Linked DNA regions of Homo sapiens: region 1 is linked to region 2. Evidence: promoter capture Hi-C in human tissues and cell types (Jung and others, 2019). All regions are on one chromosome and are shown on one strand. The core of a region is centred on a gene start or on the middle of the fragment in contact, and the rest is flanking DNA. Distances in the headings are between cores, read along the strand shown.

What was found. Contacts are between HindIII fragments. The study calls those that stand out against the background at their distance.
Region 1: a contact is called between a fragment that was not itself captured here and the fragment with the promoter of ANKRD6 in region 2, in 2 of the 25 tissues and cell types used here (aorta and heart left ventricle).

The regions. Positions count from the first base shown.
Region 1 is chr6:89,496,230-89,502,810 of GRCh38, forward strand. The region is part of intron 1 of ANKRD6 (ankyrin repeat domain 6); the gene reads left to right. Among named protein-coding and RNA genes, the nearest start is that of ANKRD6, 66 kb to the left of the region's middle. The HindIII fragment of the contact is 4,889 bases long and covers 894-5,782 here.
Region 2 is chr6:89,427,802-89,434,446 of GRCh38, forward strand. It overlaps ANKRD6 (ankyrin repeat domain 6), which reads left to right and starts at 5,351. Exons shown (of 16, transcript NM_001242809.2): 1 at 5,351-5,574. LOC124901360 (a long non-coding RNA gene) reads right to left here. Exons shown (of 2, transcript XR_007059675.1): 1 at 5,616-6,645; 2 at 2,407-4,786. RefSeq lists a silencer at 5,143-5,622. The HindIII fragment of the contact is 2,888 bases long and covers 3,558-6,445 here.

The DNA.
Region 1 (6,581 bases), core at 2,088-4,587, 66 kb after region 2:
GTTTGAATGAATAACAGAACAGAATTCTGCCTGTGAAGGGGTGTGAGGTCTTCTAGGGTACGCCGTAAGTGAGGTTCTGTTGGAATGATTAAATGGCAGAGGGCAGAGTAAATTACCAGCTGGGATCCTGTTGATAACAAGCTTGCAGGAAACTCACTGAAGTCAACGTGTAAACACAGAGATGTGGGCAGAGATATGCCGGTAGTACCGTCGGGACCAGGCCCAGGAAGTCTGTCTTTTCTCCCTTTGCCCTTTCAGGGATGTGCCCTGGGGAAAGATAAAATTAATTAATTAATTTATTTATTTATTTTGAGATGGAGTCTCTCTCTCTTCTCCAGGCTGGAGTGCAGTGGTGCGATCTCGGGTCACTGCAACCTCCTCCTCCCGGGTTTAAGCAATTCTCCTGCCTCAGCCTCCCGAATAGCTGGGATTACAGGCACCTGCCACCACACCCAGCTAATTTTTTGTATTTTTAGTAGAGATGGGGTTTTGCCATGTTGGCCAGGCTGGTCTCAAACTCCTGATCTCAGGTGATCCGGGAGAAAGATAAAACTTAAATCCTACTGTCTGTTTTCAAGTGACAACAAACTTTTATTATGTTTCAGAATTTGGAAAACTTAGGTCTGCAAATAAGAAGTTTGTCATAACATCTAAGCATAAACACTCACCTTTATTGTTTAATAGAGCATCTGAGAATATTGATGAAAAATTATTCCACTTCTTACTTTGCAGCAGCCAAAGCTTCTACCCCAAACAGAATGTCCCCTGCTCTGGGTGAGTTTATAGCTTCTTCTTTTCTGTTTTGTATAAATTCCAACTTGTCAGGGATGCTTTCTCTCTGAACTTTCAAATTAATTGTTTCCCTCCTTATCAGGTAGGTTTGATCTGAGGTGATTATGAACAGATTAGATTCTCCCAAAAGTTTAAAAAACAAACAAAAAATTACTTTGCAACAAAAACCAGGTTTCCATTCATGGTTTTCTGAATCTACAAAAATTACTTTGGTACAGGCTGATCATTTAGGATATTTAAAATTGAATTTGAAGCTTTAAACTACTATTTCTTTATTCATCCATTCATTCACTCAGCATACCTGTCTCCTGCTTTGTGACTGTTATCCTCCTTGTCCTGGTAAGTTCCTACCTCCTGGTGAGTTCTGCTGCGTAAAGTAGGGGCTGACTGCTTCAGCTGGACCAAAAACAGACCTCTGTTTCCTTTTTTCTTTTTCTATTTATAATTTTCTGCTTTGTAGGAAGACTACAAGAAATGGTATATATGACTAGATGCTGCTTTTCCACAATAATAGGGGATCTTTGAAATCCTAGGAAACTGTCTTGTTTTCTAAATTGTGTCTTTTAAACACTTTACCTGCAAGTCTTGTCTTCCTAAGTGTAGTATTAGCAAATAACAGTGGATATGTTTTTTTCTCTCTCTCTCTCTGTGTATCTGTGTATCTTCAGAGCTTTCGAATTTTAAAATAGTTTTATTAAGGTATAATTTATATATCATAAAATTTATCCATTATAACTATGCAGTTTGGTGATTTTTAAAGTAATTTCACACAGTGTGCAACCATCATCAGAATCCAGTTTGAGAACGTTTTCATTACTCCAAAAAGTTTCCTAATGCCATTTAGTGATCAGTCCCCACTACCACCCCTAGCTCCAGGCAACCATTGGTCCCCTTTCTGCCTCCATAAATTTGCCTTTTCTAGACATTACATATAAATAGAATCAGATAGTATATGGTTTTTTGTTTCTGGCTACTTTCATTGCGCATAATGTTTTTGAGGTTCATCCACGAAGTATATGTTAATATCAGTTCCAGAGGGATTTAAAACAAATAAAAACAAAACTTTGAATTGTGGCAAATTTCACAATTAGACTAGTGTAAGTCACCCACAAGTACCTCACTCCCAGATTCAGTAATTATGAAGCCATGGTCAGTCTTACTCCCTCTTCCACCCACTTTTCCTACTTCTTTGGGTTATTTTGAAGCTAGTGTTATTACTTTATAAATATTTTAATATATGCATTTGTACTTATCTCATTCTTTTCTATAGCTAAGGAGCAAAATACTTTGAGAACATGTGGCTACCTAGGTAAGGGGGAAGGTAAGAGAACTAAACATTAAATTAAAATATAAAATTCTTGCTATGTTTAAGGCACTACCTATGACAATCTGGGATATAATGATGTATAAATCTTATATATCTGCTAGGTCTGTAATATATAATTATAGTACTTAATTCAAACATCAGTCTGTGCAGATAATAGATTTCCCTTTATATATATATATTTTTTTTTACCTTGTTTACATTTTGCTTTTATTCTAAATGCCAAGTTTTGTTTTGTTTTAAGGGTAGAGAGAGATGTGTTATAGAGAATGATGTGAAGTGTTCTCTTGAAACCTGCTATGCAGAGAAGTGAACACGGATAATTTCAAATTTGCTAATCTGAAATTGTGACCAAGGTGAGAATACAATCCGGTCATTGTTTCTGTTGATTTGGGAGCCCAGTTTGCTATGGATTAGATGGATTCTTTGAATTAGAATAAGCAAGGAGAAATAAGCTCCTGAATAGCTTTGTGGACCATTCATTAATGTTTTCATAATTATTGAGTATGAGATATGTGCCAGCTTCTTTGCAGAATGTGAGCACAATTGGATGAAGATTCCTGAGGTAGATGCTTGAGGTTGGCTTTCTCAGGGCCCATTCCCAACCACTCTCTCACTTGCCTTCCTCTACTGTTGAGACTGGAAATCTCAATGTTCAATTTTCCTAACCACCTTCCAGCCAGGAGTGGTTATGTGATATAGTTTGGCCAAGCACAAGTCTGTAGGGAAAGGTCTCCCTTCCTGAATAAAAAGACATATCTAAGGTAGAAAAAGACTTTGCCTTCTTCCTGTCTGGACCTGGATGTAACACCCGGATGTAGAGCAGCCTTTTTGAAAACATGAGGTGACATAAGGATAAAAGCCATCACATTAAGGCTGGCAAAATTTAGAAATAAAAGGAGCCTAAGTTTCTGAGGGTAATGGTAAACTGTCACCAACTGTAGACTGCCTTCTCCAGGACTTATTCATATGGGCGAAAAAGAAGCCTCTATTTTGTGAGGCCTGGTGAGCCTGCTTTTTTGTTACTTGCAGCTGATTACATGCTTCATTGATACTTATGTGTTTGTCACCTTTTTGCCACCTCAGAGCACTGTCACGCCTGATGCCATTCTGGTCTAGTCATCTAGTCATGGACTTGAGGAATTTTAGGGATAGGAAGTCCTAGACATTATCTAGTTTAACGTTTCTCAACCAGTGGGTTGGGGTCGCAGTGCTGGGGGGAGGGTGCTACTGTTATTTAGCACCTGCAGGCCAGGGGTGCCAATAGCTTGTATTGTGTGAGACAGTGCCGTACCACAAATGTTCCTGTTCACAATACCAGTTCATAATGCATGGTAAGAAACGTTAGTCTGCTTCCGTGATTTAGTCCTACACAGAGCAAGCCACCCAGGGCTCTTGAGACACTGCTGTACTGACTTGGACAACCTAAACACCCTCACGGTCCCCTTTCCCTGCTGCTCCTCAGTTTAGCCTGTCTTCCCTTTCAACTCTGTTATGATGCCCACTTTGATTCCTCAAGACTTCAGCATCAAAACAGCATTCCAAACAGAAGACAAATGCACTGCAAACCAAAGAGTAATGGAGACAAAAAGCATGAAATGCCCACTGAAATCCCTAAAGCCTCTATAAAATCGTACTCTGAAAAGCCTCCGAGGCATCTGGGCTTATAATTTGTTCACTGTCTCTCCAGATTCCATCACACCCCAGTTTTATGAGGCCTGGGCTTGGGGTGATGTGAATGGTCACCTTTCCCACCTCTGGTGGCTCTTTTATCTTGCTCCAGTTGATGACCTTGATGCTTCTAGAGGAAGGAAGCAGAGGCTTCTGTCACTGAGACAGCTTCTGGTCACTTGAGCAACACAGGGGCTAAGTTCTAGAGCTCCCAGCCCTGCCTCCCAGGAGAGAGCCACAGATCACTCACTCTCCTTTTTTTCTTCCCCTTTACTTGGAGGTGGAATTCCAAGCAGAGAAGCCAGAGGCTGCCTGTGCTGTGATATTGAAGATAGAAATACTACCCTGAAGTTCCTGGCATGAAAAATATCACAGTACAGGCAGCCTCTGGAAATGGAATGAATATACCATGGTTAGAAAAATGCATCAGGCTGCAAAATTTTCACCAGGCAGTCCTACTATTAATAATGTCATATGATATATTTTTTAATAAAGCAATACATTAAAAAACGAATAGTAACTGGAATTGAAAAAGTCCTGGCTGTATCACCAGATGTGTCTTCTTCAGTAAGCCATTGAATTTCTGAGAGTTCTCAGAAATCGTGTAATGGGGGAAGAGCCTAACGCCCTCCTCCCAGGTCCCTAATCTCCCAGGAGATTAAAGGGGCTGTGGGATGGGAAAGCACTTTGGAAATTGTAAATAGCTACAACAAAGTTAATTGCTATTCTCATTAGAGCTATGAGGCTTTTAGTGGCTTTAGGCATTAATAATAGATGAGCTAGCATCCAGGACTGTGGGCCGTAGTTTTAAGTTTCTGTTGATTCTTGTTGTATTTTGATTTATTAGGTCCAACTTAATCTATTTCAGGCCAAGGCAATGGGTTGTGAGCTGAGTAAATAATAAAGATAATGTGATGCACTTAACACAGTCAGAAGAGGACTGTCCCCAATTAGTCTTTTTTTTTTTTTTTTTTTTCTAGCACAGAAAAAAGCACAGCTCTTACTGTATCTGAAAGACACTTTGGTAGGAATGCTCATCAAGACGGGGCTTGCACCTGAGGCCATTTCTTAGGAGTAGCTTTTGCCTGCATCATAATTTCAGAACATGTGATACTTGGGATGCTTTTCGTCATTGAGGTTTACTTGTCTTTATATGGAACATAATTTGTACCTGCAAAATCAAGACTTAACGATTAATTGTTTTCCCTTATGGAAGCCTAAGGCTTGTTTCTACGTATTTCCAGGGTTTTGTTCTTTAAGGAACACATGCTTATGAAAAAACACAAATACTTTCAGCAAAAAGTCTTCTGTGTCTCCCTTCCTCAAGTTGAGCTTGGAGTCAGTGGAGCTCTGATCTGCATTTGCATTTGAGAGGGATGCCTTCTTGGCAAATACAGCATGCCAGATATGTCAGTATTGGGTTGCTTGGAACTCCTTAAGCTTACTTAAACATTCTTTAGAAACACATTCCTTTGAAGAGCTCAGCAGAGCTCCCAGCCACGAGAATGCTAGGCTTATTCACAGCGTGGCTTTTACTCTCTGTAACTAATCCACAGCACATCTCTCTGGAAGGAAGCAAAATTTAGCAAGTTGCCTGTTGATTGTGTACCATACAGTATTTTTGCATTAAAGAAAACTACTTATTTCAGATACCTGGGGAGGGGCTTTATGGATAACATCCATGTGGAGATGCTTGAAAATACTGTTTGTTACACCAAAGTGAATGGGTGTTTTGTGCTTGTGTGATGCAGTAACTATGATTCTTATTTCATTTATTTCTCATTTAGAAGGTGTCGTGGTGCTAAGTCTCTGATACAAGGAGTTATCTTAAAAAAAAAAAGGCAGTGACTTGAACTGAGTGGTAGGAATAATAATATGTCCCATCTCATCACCTCCCCACAGGATTTATGTGTTCTTTTAATGGGTCTGGTTTGTGGATCGTTTCACCTTCATTGGTTTCCAGCTGAAAGTGCTGGTGGGCAGCTGCTGCAGATGATTAACACTTTCACCTAGCCTCCCATATTCTTATTGTTAACATTAAATTACACTTGCCTTAAATCTCTTTTTATTCAGTTTCTTCATTGGTTGTTAGATGTTTGTAACTTTTTTCCCCCAAGGTCCACCATGTTTCTTCATAGCAACCATGGTAATTATTAGGATAGTAGGCATATCTGGGGTTTACACTGCCTGTTTATTTGAAAAATATTTTTTCAGTTTCAGGTATATAGTTATTTCAAATAATGTAACATTGCCATACTTAACGTAACTATAATAAAAATAACTTAACCATAATTATCTCATGCAGAATAATCATTTGAACATTCCAAAGGTGATATAAAGAGAAATAGACTGGGCATGGTGTCTCATGCTTGTAATCCTAGCACTTTGGGAGGCTGAAGCAGGTGGATCGCTTGAGCCCAGGAGTTCGAGACCAGCCTGGGCAAGGTGGCGAAACCATGGCGAACCTTTATTTAAAAAACATGGCAAAGCGTTATTATTTAAAAAAAAAAGGATAAAGGGAAATAGGTCCAAATCCCTATCTACTAAAAGCTTACAGCCTAGTCTTATTTATTTTTTAGAAGAGTCTGGGCCAATGAATACTTTTTAAAAAGTTGGCTTTTAAAGCATATGCAGATTTGATCCTTGCTTTCCTTACCTGACGGGACCCTTTTTGAGCTTTTGGCTATTGTCAAGAAAATATAGCAATTAAATCCCATTATGATAATAGCTATGGAAATGTAGTACTTACAGTGGCAGGTACTATTCTAAGTGTTATTTATGTTAATTGATTTAA
Region 2 (6,645 bases), core at 4,101-6,600:
TGGCCAGGCTGGTCTTGAACTCCTGACCTCAAGTGATCCGCCCCCGCCTTGGCCTCCCAAAGTGCTGGGATTACAGGCATGAGCCACCGCGCCTGGCCTACGTAACATTCTTAAAATGACAAAATTATAGAGATGGAGAACAGATTAGTGGTTGTCAGAGATTAGGGATGGTGTCGGGGAGGGGGTTGGGTGTAACTATAATTAAGTAGCATGAGGATGATTCTTTGTGGTGATGGCATAGTTCTGTATTTTGATAGAATGGTGGTTATATGAAACTACATATGTGATAAAATTGCACAGAGCTACACACACACACACACACACACACACACACACATTGTACCAATGACTTAATATCATAAAGATGCCAATTTTTTCCAAATAGCAGTAGTAGGAAACATTCTTGCTTCTATTACATGAAGGCTGCAGACTTTTTGTGGCCATATTGGACTCTGCATGATTCCATTTGTCTTTTCATTCTGGATCCCCACGGAAGGTGCAGCCACTCTTTGGGGCATGATATTCTCATGGCAAATGGCAGAAGCTCAAGGGAGGTAGGGGAAGCACTAAAGCATACAACATATTTTAAGCTTCTGTTCCAATGTGGTGTTTGCCAAGGCAAGTCAACACAAGCCCAAAACCAATGGAGCAGACTGGTTTACCCGACCTATAGAAAAGCATGGCAAAGATGGAAAGGGTACGAATAATTGTGAATGAACAATGCAATCCACCACATATATTTACTGAGATTTGAGATTTCAAATTAAAATCTCAAGTTTATCATAACAAATGAATTAGAAAATGTCTATGAAGGAGAAAAGAGCTAAGAATACTTGAGATCTGTATAAATAAAAAAGAGAAATAAGTCAGGGTAGGACTTGTATATTTGGAAATCAACACTTGAAATAAAACCACAGGCTAGGCACAGTGGCTCACACCTGTAATCCCAGCACTTTGGGAGGCCAAGGCGGGTGGATCACTTGAGGTCAGGAGTTCAAGACCAGCCTGGCCAACACGGTGAAACCCTGTCTCTACTAAAAAATAATTTTAAAAAAATTAGCTGGGCGTGGTGGCATGCAACTGTAATCCCAGCTACTCAGGAGGCTGAGGCAGGAGAATCACTTGAACCCAGGAGAAGGAGGTTGCAGTGAGCCAAGATCATGTTACTATGCTCTGGCCTGGGCAACAGAGCGAGGCTCTTTCAAAAAGAAAAAAAAAGAGAAAAGAAAGAGAGAAAGAGAAAGAAAAAAAAAAGAAAACCAAAGATTTCAGGCAGTATGATGCTAGCAGAGGGATAGACAAATGGAACAAAATAGAGGACCGAAAACAAACCTATATGTGTATAAAAATCCATTGTAAGAGAGTTCTGGCATTGCAAATGAAAGGAGAAATGAATTTCAGATAGAATGTGGACTTACACATGAAAGACAAAATTGTAACACTTGAAATAAAATATGGGAGAATATTTTTATATCCTTGGGGTCAGAAAGGACTTCTCAAAACACATGAAACAAGGCAAAAGACACCATCAATTAACAAAAGAGGAAACAGGACTAGCTATTAAACATTAAAGATGCTCAGCCATACTGGTAATTGGGGAAATACAAACTACAACTATTATGAGAGATCATTTAGATGAAAACAAGTGCTGGCAAAGATTGTGGGACATGGATGACTTTCTTTTTTTTTTTTCTGAGACGGAGTCCCGCTCTGTCACCCAGGCTGGAGTGCAGTGGCACGATCTCACTGCAAGCTCCACCTCCTGGGTTCACGCCATTCTCCTGCCTCAGCCTCCCGAGTAGCTGGGACTACAGGCGTCCGCCACCATGCCAGGCTAATTTTTTGTATTTTTAGTAGAGATGGGGTTTCACCGTGTTAGCCAGGATGGTCTCGATCTCCTGACTTCGTGATCCACCCGCCTCGACCTCCCAAAGTGCTGGGATTTACAGGCGTGAGCCACCATGCCCGGCCAGATGACTTTCATATACAGGTGTTAGAAATGAAAATTGGTATGACCACTTTAGAAAACAATTTTAGAAAACAACCAGTTTAGACAGTTTGACATTACCTAGTAAATTTGAACGTGCACTTACCTTAAGACCTGATGATTCCACTTCTAGGTATATATCCTAAAAAACATTCTTACACACATGTATCGGAGAAATATTTAAGAATATTCACAGCAACACTGTTTGCAATAGCAAAAACTGGAGCCAATCCAACATCCAAAAGTAGAATGGGTAATTAAATTGTGTTATGTTTTTACAACAAAATACCTATATAACAGAGAAATCAGATAGGTGAATCTCAGAAACATAATGCTGGGCAAAAGCTGCAAGTTGCATGGGAATAATGCAGAATGATTCTATTTTAAAAAAGCTCAAAAACACGCAAAAACAAACCATGTAGTGTTTAGGGACACATATATTTGTGATAACATAATTATTAACACAAAACTTAGGATGGTGGTTTCCTCTGAAAGAGAAGGATATGATTATAGAGCGGCAGATGGAAGGGTTCTTCCTTGAGTGGAAGCTTTAGCAAAGGCAGTTTCAGTGGAGTGGCAGGGATGGAAGCCAGAATGGTGTGTTGAAGGCTGCGTTGAAGCTAACAACATGAAAGACAGCTAATGCAGTCAGCTCATTAAAGACATGTTGTTGAAAATAGGAGCAGATTATATTATCACAAAGCAGTGAAAATGATCATTTGCAGAGCAAACTTCTTTCTCACAAGGCAGAAGGAGGGTGAGCTAGGGTGAATATAAGAGGCTGGCTGTGATTGAGCTGAACGTAGGGGCAAGAACAGAGCTGCAGCCTGGGAGCCCTTCTCATAAAGAGGGAGATTTAGGAGTCTTCTTCGTTGGTCGCCCAAAGACTGTCTGCCCACTTGGAGATAAGCAAGCAAGATCTCCAAGCAGCTCAGCCACTGCCTGCTTTGGCTCTCATGAGACCTCCTGCCAGGAATCCCCATTAATCAAAGTCTGGGAACAAAAGCAGACCAGTCAGTTCCCAGGAGCGCTCACATGTCTTGCAGGCTGGCTTGGGCTTTCTGTTTCTTTCGGGGTCATTGCTCTGACTACCCACAAATATAACTTAAAATCTCATCTCAATGTGACTTTCTGGTGATGTTTTAAAAGCCTATCAGGGAAACTGAGCATTTGCATCTTTGGAAGTTTATTCGAGGGACTAGCTAGGAAAACTCAATGTGGAAAAGTACAAGAGAGAAATGATCACATTGAAAGGTCATGTGGCTGGGCGCGGTGGCTCACACCTGTAATCCCAGCACTTTGGGAGGCTGAGGCAGGTGGATCACAAGGTCAGCAGTTCGAGATCAGCCTGACCAACATGGTGAAACTCCGTCTCTACTAAAAATACAAAAAAATTAGCTGGGCGTGGTGGCAGGCGCCTGTAATCCCAGCTACTTGGGAGGCTGAGGCAGGAGAATTGCTTGAAACCGGAAGGTGGAGGTTGCAGTGAGCCGAGATTGCACCACTGCACTCTAGCCTGGGCAATAAAAGCAAAACTCCATCTCAAAAAATAAAAAGAAAGGTCATGTGTACAAACTTTGACTTTGAGGGTTATCTAGGAACTCATTAGTAACCTGCCTGGAGAGAAACCTGGAGCTACAAGCCAGCAGAGAAAGGAAATGTGTTCTTCTATCAGCTCCAGGTGTAGAGCAACAGGAATGGGGCACAAATCTGAAGAAGGGCTGGGCGCGGTGGCTCACACCTGTAATCCCAACACTTTGGGAGGCTGAGGCCGGAGGATTACTTGAGCCCAGGAGTTCAAGACCAGCCTTGACCTCCTCTGTGTTAAACATAAAAAAATTAGCTGGGCATGGTGGTGCACACTTGTAATCCCAACTATTCAGGAGGCAGAGGCAGGAGGATTGCTTGAGCCCAGGAGTTCAAGACTGCAGTGGGCTACTGCACTTCAGCCTGGGTGACACAGCAAGGCCCCATCTTAAGGGGGAAAAAAAAGTCTGGAAAAGGCCAAAGGATACTCAGAAGAGAGATTTCACATCCTGTTAGGTAAAACTGCAGCTGTGACTATGGGGTTGGGAAAATTTCAGAAGCAGTAGGAGAAAATCAAGAACTTCCCCTTCCTAGTGTGGAAACAGGCTCTTGGGATCTCTCCTGCCTAATGATCCCTGAAGGAGAGAGGGAAACAAACATCTTAAGGAAAAGGAAGAAATCATCATGTTTCTTTTCTCCTGGAAACCAGGCCTGTTTCAGAGGGAATAAGAAAAGTCGGCTGGGTGCAGTGGCTCATGCCTGTAATCCCAGCACTTTGGGAGGCCGAGGCTGGAGGATCACGAGGTCAGGAGTTCGAGACCAGCCTGACCAATATGGTGAAACCCCATCTCTACTAAAAATACAAAAATTAGCCAGGGATGGTGGCGGGCACCTGTAATCCCAGCTACTCAGGAGGCTGAGGCAGGAGAATCACTTGAACCTGGGAGGCGGAGGTTGCAGTGAGCCTAGATGGTGCCATTGCACTCCAGCCTGGGTGACAGAGTGAGACTTCGTCTCAAAAAAAAATTTTAAGCAAGAAAGAAAAAAAAATCAGATTCGTGATAAGCTTGTCCCAAAACCTCAGGTAAGATTGATAGTCCATTTTAGGGTGCTGCTTGCCTCCTCTTCCATCTCTCCGCCTTTGGAGAGCAGATACCTGTCCATGCTTCTTCAAAGGGTGGAATGAGATCCCATCCATCTTACATGTATTCAACAGTAGCTTATTGAATGCTTCCTGTGTTCAGGGAGCTCTTCTAGGTATTGAAGAAGTGGCTGTGAATGAAAATAGACAAAACCAGACTGAGATAATGGTATGTAAAGTGTGATATGAATATGGGGGTCAGGCTCGCTCAATGCTTTTGCCATTTCCATATGGGATGATTCCAACAAGATACTTATAGTCAAGCTGTTAGAAATAAAGGCTTCCTTTCCCCTCTCCAGCTACCCCAATAAATCTGGGTCATTCATCATTGTTGTTCAGTTTGTACTGAGCAGCCCCAGTTAAGTGAGCTATGGTTATATTGAAATATCCACTTGGCCACGAATTGAGTGAAGGTGGGAGGTTCCTCCTGCTAATTCTCCTCCCCTCCCAATACACTTCCTGGCAACCCCCACGCGGAAAACCTCACCCTACTATAGGCCCCCTTCCTCCCACTCTTCAGAAGGCGGTGGCCCCACCCAGGAGAGGGCTGCAGATCGGGGCCAGCCCCAGGGCCTCCGCGGTGCCACCTCTCTCTCGCGAGGGTCCCTGCCGTGCCCCGGCTCGCCGCTGGGAGGCGCTGCGGCACCGGCGTAGGAGCCGCCGGCAGGGGTGGGGCGGGGCCGGCGGGACGGGGCAGAGGGCCCTGCGGCGGCGGACGCGGCGGGCTCGGCCACAGGTAACCCGCAGGAGCCGAGAGCGCTGCCTGGCGCGCGGGCGGCTGGAGGCACGGCGCTGGGCGGCGCCGAGGCCCTGGGGCCGCCGGAGCCAGCGGGAGCCAGTCCCCGTCTTCGCCCCTCGCCCCCCACCGTGTCGCCGGCCTTGGTCCCTGCGGCGCGGACGTCCGGCGCGGGAGAGAAAGGTACCAGGCGACCTCGCCGGCTCCCTGGGACCCCCGCTTACACCGGGGTGGGCGCCTCAGGTCGGGGAGGACGCTGTCGGGGGAAGGGGGCGCTGCTCCCTCGGCACCCCAGGATCGCCGACTGCCCGCGGAGGAGACCCGGACACCGCGCCTCGCCCCCTGGCCTGCGGCCTCCGAAAACGCCCGGCGCGAGGGGGTCCCCCCGGGGCGCCTCCCTCTTCGCCTGGCATCAGTTGCCTCCCTGGAATATGGAACTTCGGGCGAGGGAGGTGGAGAACTTTCTTCTGGGGCTCGTCCCTCGTTCTCCTGCTCGCTTGCAGTTTGAAGGAAGGGCGGTGGGGGCGGGGGTCCGAGTACCCCGCGGTCTGCGGCGCGTAGGAGGGTAGGTCCCTGGCCTGCGGCCGCCTCCGAATGACCCCGTCCCTCCCCGCCCTGGACGACAGCACTAGGGTGCAGTCGCAGGAGAGGGGCCGATACCCCTCAGGAGCCCCATCGGCGAAGCCTCAGCAAGTGGCATCTCCCGGGGTCCAGAGAGTCGGCGTGCTGTCTGGTTTGGGTCCAGACATCAGCTCACCCAAGCTTATCTTGGGCTTTTAAGTGTGTTGCTTCCGGTAGATCTCGGGGACTGGAGGGGAAGTGCAGCATTATTTGTGACCCAAGAGGGACTTGAATGTCTCAAAGCTGGTCAAGAATGTTTCCCCCGCGAGGTAGCATGAGATGGGTCACGTGGTAGTAAAGAGCCACTTCGGGCCCGTGAGATGGAGTTCTGACTCCACCACTTGTTAGGTGTGTGACTTTGGAAAACCCACTTCTTTAAACCTTAGTTTTTAGAACTCTAAACTGCAGGTATTGTACATAACCTCGTAGTATTGTGTTCATGCAGTGAAGTGATGGGAATGAAATGCTTGGCATTGTACTCTTGTGTGTTAGACACCTTTTGCGAACCTGTTGGATGTTGAATTCATTCATGCTTAGGTTCTGTTAGGCCAGTGTAAGTGGAAAGAACTTGGGCAATGAAGACAAACACACCTGGGTCCAAGGTGGTCCCATCCATGGTATACTGATTGGGGG